Linked DNA regions of Homo sapiens: all the other regions are linked to region 3. Evidence: promoter capture Hi-C in 16 types of primary human blood cells and fetal thymus (Javierre and others, 2016). All regions are on one chromosome and are shown on one strand. Each heading gives the region's core, a stretch centred on a gene start or on the middle of the fragment in contact. The rest is flanking DNA. Distances are from core to core; before and after follow the strand shown.

Evidence for each region. The method cuts DNA at HindIII sites, captures the fragments that hold promoters and counts their contacts. A CHiCAGO score of 5 or more calls a contact.
Region 1: the fragment with the promoter of RAB6A here is called in contact with the fragment with the promoter of LIPT2 in region 3 in 5 of 17 cell types (fetal thymus, non-activated CD4 T cells, naive CD4 T cells and 2 more); the score reaches 7.6 in fetal thymus.
Region 2: a contact is called between the fragment with the promoter of COA4 here and the fragment with the promoter of LIPT2 in region 3, in 2 of 17 cell types (activated CD4 T cells and naive CD4 T cells). The highest score is 5.3, in activated CD4 T cells.

What each region holds. Positions count from the first base shown.
Region 1 is chr11:73,759,433-73,762,791 of GRCh38, forward strand. RAB6A (RAB6A, member RAS oncogene family) reads right to left here and starts at 1,642. Exons shown (of 8, transcript NM_198896.2): 1 at 1,134-1,642. The coding sequence starts at 1,203. It overlaps LOC124902711 (a long non-coding RNA gene), which reads left to right and starts at 1,726. Exons shown (of 2, transcript XR_007062775.1): 1 at 1,726-1,808; 2 at 2,305-3,359. RefSeq lists an enhancer at 793-1,293 and silencers at 1,590-1,899, 2,060-2,249. The HindIII fragment of the contact is 8,881 bases long and covers 1-2,359 here.
Region 2 is chr11:73,874,577-73,878,412 of GRCh38, forward strand. COA4 (cytochrome c oxidase assembly factor 4 homolog) reads right to left here and starts at 2,270. Exons shown (of 2, transcript NM_016565.3): 1 at 2,181-2,270. PAAF1 (proteasomal ATPase associated factor 1) reads left to right here and starts at 2,423. Exons shown (of 12, transcript NM_025155.3): 1 at 2,423-2,492. The coding sequence starts at 2,446. RefSeq lists enhancers at 2,521-2,570, 2,591-2,660. The HindIII fragment of the contact is 5,366 bases long and covers 1-3,836 here.
Region 3 is chr11:74,492,047-74,495,654 of GRCh38, forward strand. It overlaps LIPT2 (lipoyl(octanoyl) transferase 2), which reads right to left and starts at 1,678. Exons shown (of 2, transcript NM_001144869.3): 1 at 1,192-1,678; 2 at 1-318. The coding sequence starts at 1,657. The coding sequence ends at 89. LIPT2-AS1 (LIPT2 antisense RNA 1) reads left to right here and starts at 1,334. Exons shown (of 2, transcript NR_171028.1): 1 at 1,334-1,927. RefSeq lists silencers at 1,444-1,553, 1,664-1,913. The HindIII fragment of the contact is 1,360 bases long and covers 571-1,930 here.

The DNA of each region.
Region 1 (3,359 bases), core at 392-2,891, 730 kb before region 3:
AAATGACATAACAATTTCACTCATCAGACAGTACAGAATATTAAGCATAAAAGAATTATTTAGCCCAAATGGTATTTAAATCTAATTTAGGTAACTAGATGATGAGTCTGTTCCTACTCTACTCCATTTTCCAAAGGAAATCCGACAAAACAAAGATGTTTGTTATTCCAAGCCTTCTCTCACATGAATCCTCAATATATCATTGGAAAATACTCAAGAAGGAATGAATAATTAACATTTCCCCAGTAATTCCCTTTTGTACCACCATGAGACTCAGACGCTGCTTCATGTTGAAAAGAGAAAAAGGGGAGGTGAGATGAGAAAAATTCCAAGTAAAATGATCATGACATAGCATCTGGCAGAGATTGAAAAATCATCAACATTGCCAAAAGAATTGTCAGTGATGAAAGTCAAGAGAACAAAATGAGGTTTTCCGACAAGCCACAGCCCCATCTAACCTAAGGGGCAAAAATCTCCACTGCCGACGCTACCCCTTTCACCCCCAACCACCCCATGCTCAAGTCGTCTCCAATTCAGATGTTTCCTCTATGGCCCAGACTAATTTCCCACCCAGGTGAAAATCATTTAATTTTTTCTACTACCACCCCTTCCCACCTTCCACGACATCAGCACTTCGCAGGGCCAAGCCTCTGGGGAAAACAACGCCCAGATCCCACCCTCCTTGGCCAAGGTTGAAGAGGGCCCGCTCTCGGGAGTGGGGCTTCCCTGAGTGGGCCTCACAGAGCTGAGGAACTGGGAAAAGAGCAAGGAATAAGGGTGGGGCTCAAGAAAGGGGGCCGGGGTACGGGCAATGACCGAGACCGGAGGAAGAAAGGGATGGACAAGAGGCTGGGCGGGGTGAGGTCTGGGGAGGGAGGGCAGATCGACCGGAGATGGCCGGACTGCGGGGAACGGAGCCGGGGAGTCGAGGATTGAAGAACCCGGGGAACAGGGTAAAAACTCGGCCACTGGCGAAGAGCCAGTGGCACCGGGGGGCACATCGGGAAGGGCTGCGGTGGCAACGAGCGCGGACGCGAGGCGGGCAGGGAGCCTCCGCGGACGGAAGGGCCGCACCGGGGGCGGTGCGGGGACGCTGCGGCCAGCTGCCAGGAGTAGGGGAGCCACGCACTCACCGCTTTGCTCCCCCAGGAACACCAGCTTGAATTTCCTCAGCGGATTCCCGAAGTCTCCGCCCGTGGACATTGTGGAACTAGAGGAGCGGCCGCCGCCTCAGCCTAGAGACCTCCCGGACCGATGCTGCTCCAGCCAGCTGACGAAAAAGGCGAGCGGAAGGGCGGGCACCGAGCTCTCTCGGCCCCTGCAAGGCCCGGTGGAGGAGCCCGGCTGGAGGGCAGCAGGACTCTCCACAGACTGGCAGCCGCCGCCGCCTCCCGGCAGAGTAGCCTAGCACCGAGCGAGGCCCGCGGCTGGGAAGGGAAGGAGGGCGGTGTCGGCAGGAGCCAGGGGTGTCCTCTGGCTTCCCAAAGCTAGGGCCGTTCCCTCCTTCCGCACTCGGCTCCCAGACCTGGGGAAGAGAAGCTGAGGGTGGCGGAGCCGGAACCGCAGACGTATCTGGGACCTCTCACGCGCAGCGCCTGAGCTTCCACAGCTGCCGCCGCCGCCGCAGCCCAACCTGCTGAGTGCGCGAGCCTCTGGAGCGGCGCGGGGCGAGCCCGGGCGCGAGCCTGCGGCCCCGCCGGCCGCTGGCGTGCGTGCGTGCGTGCATGCGTGCGCGCCACCGCCATCGCCATCGCCTTCCTGGTTTGGACAGCTCTACCGGCTCCTCCCGCACGGCGGCGACGGGGCAGGTTAGGTTTCCACTGGCGTCAAAAGAAGCCAGGAGGAGGCGGGGCAAGCCAGGGATAAGTTAGTGGGAGGCTGGAGCCCTTACGTCACTTACATAATGAGCCAATCGGAAGGGGCTGAGGGCGAGCCCACACGCGAGTGAGGTGGCAGCGTGAGAGCGCGCGCAGCCCTCGAGCTGTGGAAAGCGGAGCACTGTGGCGGCCATAAGAAGTGTGGCGCCTCTCAGCCTGAGGGGAGGGGAAGGAAAGAAAGGGGAGGGGGAGAAGGGTGGGGCGGAGGCGGGGCCGGGACAAAGGTGGAATATGATCCCCCAAAAAGTGTGGGTGGGGTCCTATAGCCTTAAAATTTGTAATGGGAGCCTCTTTCCTGAGCCCTCAGCCGTGCCTCACAGTCCTCAGATCCCTTCTTCACCATTGCACACACCCCACCTTCTCCATCCTCTCATCATAATTCCTCACAGGCATCTTACTAAATAACATTCTCCTCCATTGCTCCCAGGAATGTTATAACTGCCAGAATCATGGCCTCCCAATTTTGCAGATGAGGAAACTGAAGCTTAGAGGGAGTAAATGACTTGCAAAATCCATAAAGCGGGCTGGGCGCGGTGGCCCACGGCTGTAATCCCAGCACTTTGGGAGGCGGAGGCGAGTGGATCACGAGGTCAAGAGATCGAGACCATCCTGGCCAACATGGTGAAACCCTGTCTCTACTAAAAATGCAAAAATTAGCTGGGGGTGGTGGCGCGCGCCTGTAGTCCCAGCTACTCGGGAAGCTGAGGCAGGAGAATCGCTTGAACCCGGGAGGCGGAGGTTGCAGTGAGCCGAGATCACACCACTGCACTCCAGCCTGGCGACAGAGCGAGACTCCATCTCAACAGAAAAAAAAAAAAAAAAAAAAAAAAAAAGCCGGGCGTGGTGGCTCATCCCTGTAATCCCAGCACTTTGGAAGGCTGAGTTGGGTGGATCACCTGACGTCAGGAGTTCCAGACCAGCCTTGGCCAACATGATGAAACCCCATCTCTACTAAAAATACAAAAAATTAACGTGGTGTGGTGGCGGGTGCCTGTAATCCCAGCTACTTGGGAGGCTGAGGCAGGAGAATCGCTTGAACACGGGAGGCGGAGGTTGCAGTGAGCCAAGGTCACACCATTGCACTCCAGTCTGGGCAACAAGAGCGAGACTCTGTCTCCAAAAAAAAAAATCCATAAAGCAGCTGGGCGCGGTGGCTCACGTCTGTAATCCCAGCACTTTGGGAGGCCGAGGCGGTAGAATCGCTTGAGCCCAGGAGTTCGAGACCAGGCTGGGCAACAAAGCAAGACACTATCTCTACAAAAAATAAAATAGCCGAATATCGTGGTGTGCTCCTGTAGTTCCGGCTACTCAGGAGCCTGAAGCAGAAGGATTGCTTGAGTCCAGGAGTTGGAGGCTGAGGTATGGCACCACTACACTGAAATCTGGGTGACAGAACAAGTCCCTGTCTTAAAAAAAAAAAAAAAAAACAAAAAAACTTTCTAAGTGAATAATAAAAAATATGTCCTTACATTTGTGTCTATA
Region 2 (3,836 bases), core at 1,020-3,519, 620 kb before region 3:
AGCTATGATGGTGCCACTGTACTCCAGCTTAGGTGACATAGTGAGACCCTGTTTCAAATAAATAACCTTTCTTCTTTTATCCTACTAGCCTTATTCTATGCTGAAGAACAAAGTTTAAAAAGTGAAAGAGGCTGGGTGCAGTGGCTCACACATGTAATCCCAGCAATTTGGGAGCCCGAGGCAGATGGATCATAAGGTCAGAAGTTCAAGACCAGCCTGGCCGGGATGATGAAACCCCGTCTCTACTAAAAATACAAAAATTAGGCGGGCGTGATGGCAGGCACCTGTAATCCCAGCTACTCGGGAGGCTCAGGCAGGAGAATCGCTTTAACCCAAGGGGCGGAGGTTGTAGTGAGCCAAAGATCGTGCCACTGCACTCCAGCCTGGGTGACAGAGTGAGACTCCATCTCCAAAACAAACAAACAAACAAAGTGAAAGAGTGCCCAAATATGGGTAGGTTTTGACACATGGGAAGGATGGAAAGAGTTCACTGTGGCTGTAGCATACAGTATGCAGAAACCTGGCCTCTGGGTCTATAAGGTGAGATGGCTTTGTAAACTATACAAAAATGTGAGGTGTATTTATTTGCCCAAACTGTCTTGCCCGTCTGCATCAGAACACTCAGCAGAAAGCAGCATACAGAAGGAACTTAAGGTTTGAAGAGAAATGACTTCAGCCTTTGCAAAAATTTCACCATGATGGGCTGTAAAGCAACTAGGACTCCTTATTGCCTTAACTGTGTCTCTCATTCACTCAACAAATGATTAAGTACCTATCATGTACCAGGCACTATGCTAGTGCTGAGGATTCAAGACTGTCTAAGTCAGTTAAGTTCCTGGCTTCATGGAGTTTACAACCTAGACAAGGAAACAGGGCAGTTTACTACACAGTGTACAGATAGCAAAGACTGGGACCACAGTGGAGGGATGCCTAATCCAGACAAGGGCAGGAATAGGCAGGGAAGGCTTCCTAGAGGAAGTGATTTCCAAGCTGAAACTTGACAGATGGAACAGAAGTTAGCCAGAGATGGGAAAACTATTTTTGGTCAATGGAAGAGCAGGTGGTTGAGATAGAATCTGACACATGAGAGCAAAAAAAAAAAAAAGTTCAGTGATGGGAGAATACAGTGTGAGAATAAGACAATATTAAACTGGCGATATAAGTAAGTGATCATCACAAGGCTTTGTAGGACATAGTAGGGAGTTTAAGACTTTTTATTCTGAGGGCAATGGGGAATCACAAGAGGGAGTTAGGCACTTTACACAACTCATTTGCCTTGGAGGCGGTATAACTTAAGCAAGAGGGAGAAAATGGGCTTTGAAACAGACTTGGACCTAGCTTTGTCACTGCCTCATTTGGTGCCCTTGGACACATCATTTAATAACCTCTCTGGAAGCACAGAGATGAAGCCGGGTGCCATGGCTCACGCCTGTAATCCCAACACTGGGAGGCTGAGGCGGGAGGATGGTTTGCGCCCAGCCTGGGCAACACTGTGAGCCGTGATCACGCCACTGCATTCCAGCCTGGGTTACAGCGGGAGACCCTGTCTCAAAAAAAAAAAAAAAGAAAAAAAAAAAGGTAAGGTTTGTAAGGAGGCTGGTATGTCTAAAGAGTTCAATAAATGATAGTTTTCTCTTCCTAAATACACTGTTAACTCTTTAAATAGGGCCAGGAGCAAATAATTTAGAGAAAGAACAGTGGAATAGAAAGTGCCTTGATCCTAAACCAAGAGATCCGTGTTCAAATCCCAGCACTACGCCTTACTATGTAATCTTTTTCATTTTAGTTTTCCCATTAATAATATTTAATTCGCACAATTAGAATGAAGATTAATATAACGAATGAAAAGCGCTTGGGCTACTATAGGACTCAGTAAATGCTGCTGTACTCTCCTCTCACCACCTTTTGGCTTCAGTCTCCTCTGGAGTAAAATGACGACGACCCCTGCTCAGAGATCAGGGTAGGCTAGATGGTTGGCAGCTGGATCGTGGAGGCTGGCCTAAACAAGGAAGTCATGGAAAGGATCTTAAAGCAGAAAAATGCTGGCAGCCACGAGGCCTGAGGCGCCTCAGGCGTATCGAGGACTTTGAACTTTGAGGACGCATGCGCGCGCGCGGCCGCTGATCGCAGCCCCGTTGTGCCCGCAACGCCTCCTGAAGAACGCGGTACGCGATGCTCACCGAACAGGTGGGAGAAGAGGGCCCGAACGCACGCTCCTACGCGGCGGCTTGGGTTTCGCAGGCGGTTGGGGATCCTCTGTACATCCTTTCAGGAACCAGCCCCTCGTGGGGAGCGTGCACACGGAAGGGGCGGGGAATGTGAAAAAGTCACGTTTTCATTGGTGGCCTCTTGGTGTTGAGCCCACCTCTGTCCTCGCCGCACGCTTCTCGGGGACTCACTTCCGGGAAGGGGCGGAAGAGGTGGGCTGGTGGAGGCGGGGTCGAGATGGCGGCGCCTTTGAGGATTCAGAGCGACTGGGCGCAAGCCCTCAGGTGAATCCAGGCCCAGAACAGAGTCAGAGGAGGCGGGTAGTGGATGTTGCTTTGCGTCAAGGAGAGCCATGCCTGGTCCAGGATATCAATAGGGGTTACTTCGTCAATTGTCGAGGGATATGGAGGGAACAGGGTCCGGAAAAAGAAGTATCAAACCCGTATGGTCATTCTCTGAAAAGCTATCCCTAGGCCAAGGGAGCACATGAGCTGTGTGATCCCCGCGTCAGAACTAGTATCAGTGAGTTGGAGAAAGACAGGGATACTGGGAGGCAGGAAGGCTTTTGGCCAAGCAGTCATTTAGCAAATATTGATTAGTCGTCAGTTACTTCCAGAAGTCTCTGTACTCACCACCACTTTGTGTATGTGATGGAACCTTTGTATTCTCCTAGGCCCCTAATGCTATATTAGGCATACTGGACGATACTATTAAGGAAACTAATACTGTGTCCAGGCCCCATACTGGATGCTTGGTGGAGCTCAGATGTATACTCTAAATATAAGTGATGGTTCCTGCTCTTCAAGAAGCTGACATCCAGGCCAGGCGCAGTGGCTCATGCCTGTAATCCCAGCACTTTGGAAAACTGAGATTGGTGGATCAGTTGAGGTCAGAAGTTCGAGACCAGCCTGACCAACATGGTGAAACTCCGTCTCTACTAAAAATACAGAAATTAGTCGGGCTTGGTGGTGGGCGCCTATAATCCCAGCTACTCGGGAGGCTGAGGCAGGAGAATCGGTTGAACCCAGGAGGTGGAGGTTGCAGTGAGCCGAGATTGCACCACTGCACTCCAGCCTGGGTGACAGAGCGATACTCATCTCAAAAAAGAAGAAAAGCTGACGTCTTAATTAGGAATACACAGCAAACTATTCATTCATCTAACATTTATTGATCTTATACTATTCCAGTTATTTCTCTAGGCTTCAGGATGAATATAGCAGTGCTATATTTGGCAACTGCTACTACTAATAAGGGTTTTTCAAATTGAAACAATGGTGAAGATGAATGAAACATAGCCTTCTGCATTTAAGAAATTTACACCTTACTAAATTTATACCTTACTTAATTTAGGTGGGCTAAAATACAGACTAGTTGCTAGTACACAGAATGTGATAAGTAATAAAGAACAATAACATGAAGTGCCACTAGCTACCTATGAGAAAATACAGCACCAGAATCAGAAGGCTTAATTTGCCCAAGATCATGCATCTCGTCAAATGATAGAGGGTTGCTGTCAACCTAGATCTTTCTGTCTTAAATGCATAGACCCTTTCCATTATACCCTAAAAGTGCTAGGGTGAAGAGATCAGGATTTGGATGATTGGGCAGGTGCTAAAATAATAAAAGGA
Region 3 (3,608 bases), core at 428-2,927:
CAGGTCTAAAATCTGGGTTTCAGTAGGTGACTCAAGTCAGACTTCATGCTTCCCAAGGCAGGAGCATCCTGGCTGTTATGAGTACTCTTCAGTTGGGGCTGTCCTCTGAGATCAGTGTGCACTTGTAGATCTCCTTAAAGGCCACAAGGAAAGGTGGCATTACTTCTTCCACGGTGACGTGCCTCTGGAGCTCCTTACTCAAGGAAGTGACGCCTGTCCCAACCAGTCCACAGGGCACGATGTGCTCAAACCACGTGAGGTCGGTAGAGCAGTTGAGAGCCAGGCCGTGGGATGTGATGTGCCTTCCACAGCGGACTCCTGCAAGGCAAGCCAAAGGGTCTTAGAGTAGATACCCTCCACTCTCCGGGCTTTGGTGTCCCTCTCAGGGCGATGAGAAAACTGGATTAGATCACCGGTTTTCAAATTTTGTTTCTGGAGAAACAAGGGATTGTACTCAGATGGGAAAAGGAAACAAATGAAAGGAAGGGGTGCGTGGCTTCAAGCAGCTGCACTCATCATGAGGATTCCAGGAAATGTCTTTTAACAGATTCCAATACTTAAAAAAAAAAAAGCTTGGGGACAGGCGCAGTGGCTCACGCCTGTAATCCCAGCATTTTGGGAGGCCGAGGCGGGCGGATCACGAGGTCAGGAGATCGTGACCATCCTGGCTAACACGGTGAAACCCCATCTCTACTAAAAATACAAAAAATTAGCCGGGCTGGTGGTGGGCGCCTGTAGCCCCAGCTACTCTGGAGGCTGAGGCAGGAGAATGGCGTGAACCCGGGAGGCGGAGCTTGCAGTGGGCCGAGATTGCGCCACTGCACTCCAGCCTGGGTGACAAAGCGAGACTCTGTCTCAAAAAAAAAAAAAAAAAAAAGTTTGAAAATTAGCACCCTTATTTGCCATGACATTGTCATTCGCAGGACGTAACCTGGCAATTCACTTCTCTTGTCTCTCCCTTAACAGAAATGCGTGTTGGACTAGATGTGAGGAGCCTTCTGCTTCTGAATATACGATATCTGAAAAGGGGCTTAAAAACTCAAACGCAGCGGGTAGCTGTGATTCAAAACCCGCGCTAGATACGCCTCCTCCCGGCCCTCACCTCCGTTGGTCCAGCCCCGTCAGACCCCGCCCCCAGGCCTCAAGCTCCGACCTCGGCTCTCAGGTACCGCCCTGCTCCGCGGCGCTCACCGATCGCGCAGATCTTGCGATCGTCTAGCCAGACGCCAGTGTAGGGCGGGGGCCGCGCGCGGGCGTCCTGCAGGCCCTGGAGCTCGCACAGGCGCACGGCGCACGCCTCCAGCGACGCTACGTGCATGCGCAAGCGCAGGCCGAGACGCCGCAGGTCGAGTACCGGGTGGCAAAGCAGCTGGCCCGGGCCGTGGAAGGTGGCCAGGCCACCGCGGCCTGTGACGCGCACCTCGGCGCCCAAGGCCCGTAGCCGCGCAGTTTCCTCGGGCGTCAGGCCGCCGCGCAGCCCGGCCGTATACACGGGCCCCGCGGGCTCGCAGAGCAGGAGCGCGCCCGCCTCAGTCCCCGACGGGGCCTCAATGCCTGGCTCGGCCTGCAGCCGCCGCAGCCAGCGGTCCTGCAGCCCCAGTAGCTCGGCGTACGGCACCCGACCCAGGCGCACCAACCGAACGGCGGGTTGCCGCATCGTGCCCACCGTTGCGTCCGCGGGGCCCCGCCCTCTCCGTGGGCCTGGGGGCGTGGCCTGAGGGGCGGGGACTCGGGGGCACACCCCGAGCCGCAGCTCCCAGGTGCGTGTTAAAAGCTGGAGGGGGGATATGTGATCCCAGGACCAAAAGCGCGGGGCCAGACTCATCGGTTCATTCAACAACCAGTATTTAGTGCCTGCTGTGTTCTGCAGGCCCTGCCATAGGCGCTTGATACAGCGGTGCATAGCGTATGAGAAAGATCTGTCCTGGTAAGCTTACATTCTTACAGCAGACGATAAGTATTTTAAGTGTTAAGTAAATAAGGTTATTTCACGTATAAGGTGTTAAATGCTATGAAAAGAAAAATAAAACAGGGTAACGTGGTGTGTCCTGTGTTGAGCCCCTGGGGGACGCAAGAGGGAGATTAGCTTGCCTACAAGGTTATTGGTGGAGGTAGGGAGAACTTAAAGATCAGCACCTGTAAGAAAGTGAAGGAAGCAGGAATTTGTAGGCAGAGGAAGAAGTTGGCCTGCAAAACAGTTGCAGCAGAGGCCTTGACCAATCCCAAGGCATGCTTGGAGCCTAGGATGACCCTTCAGAGTAGTTCCACATTAAAGCAAGGGGGCCAGAAACTCTTATCCTTGCATTGACCAGTCATGGATACAGGCTACACCTGGGGAGGAGCTGTGATTTTTTTTTTTTTTTTTTTTTTGGCAAGACTGCTTCCCTCGGTGGAGGGCGGCCCCCAGAGAAGGACTCAGTTGTGTATCATCAGTAACCAACTCCAGAAGCTGAGGGAATGACTGTCTAGGCCCTGAGGGGGTGTCTGGACCACAACATCAGCTATGTTGCAGTTAGAGTATCATTTAAACAAGTCTGAATTCAATGAATTTTTACTGAGGACTTTTCAGACACCATAGGTGTCTGAAAAACATTTCATAAACATAGACATAAAGATCCTAAGCAAATATTAGCAAATCAAATCCAGCAATTTATAAAAGGATTAATACATCATGATGAAGTAGGGTTTATCCCGGGAATGCAAGGTTGGTTTTGCATTCTGAAATCAAACAATGTAATTTACCTTAAAAGAGAAAAGCCTTCATTGGAAGAAATAATAAAAATTTTTTTTAAAGAAAAGCTATGATTATGTTAAAAAATACAGATAAATCTATTGGCAAAAATAAACACCTCTTCTGACCAAAATACTTAGCAATCTAGGAATAGAAGAGAAATTTTCCAGTCTGATGAAGGGTTCAAATTATCAATCAGGGTTTGGACAAGAGAAATCACATATGTACTATTTTAATTAAATGTTTTATTTGAGAAAATTGGACACTCATATGCAGTTGTAAGGAATAATATGGACAGATTATATGTACCCTTTACCCAGCTTCCCCCAATGGAAACACCTTGCAAAACTGTAGTACAATATCACAACCAGGATACTGACATTGATAAAGTCAAGATGCAGAACATTTTCATCACCACAAGGATCCCTCATGTTGCTCTTTGTAGTTACACTGCTTCTTAATTCCTGGCAAACGTCTGTGTTGTATAGATGGAATCATACAGAGTGCAACCTTTTAGAATTTTTTTTTCACTCAGCATAATTATCTGGAGACTCATCCAAGTTGTTGCATGTATCAATAGCGCGTTTCTTTTTATTGATGAGTAGTAGTCCATAGTATGAATGTACCACAGTTTGTTTAGCCATTCACTCACTGAAGAACACCTGGGTTGTTTCCAGTTTTCAGATATTCTGAGTAAAGGTACTGTAAACATTTGTGTACAGGTTTTTGTGTGAACTAAGTTTTCATCTCTCCGGAATAAATGCCCAGGAGTGCAGTTGCTGGGTTGCATGGTAGTTACATGTTTCGTTTTTTAAGAAACTGCCAAAATGCTTTCCAGAGCGGCTGTACCATTTTACATACCCACCACCAGTGTATG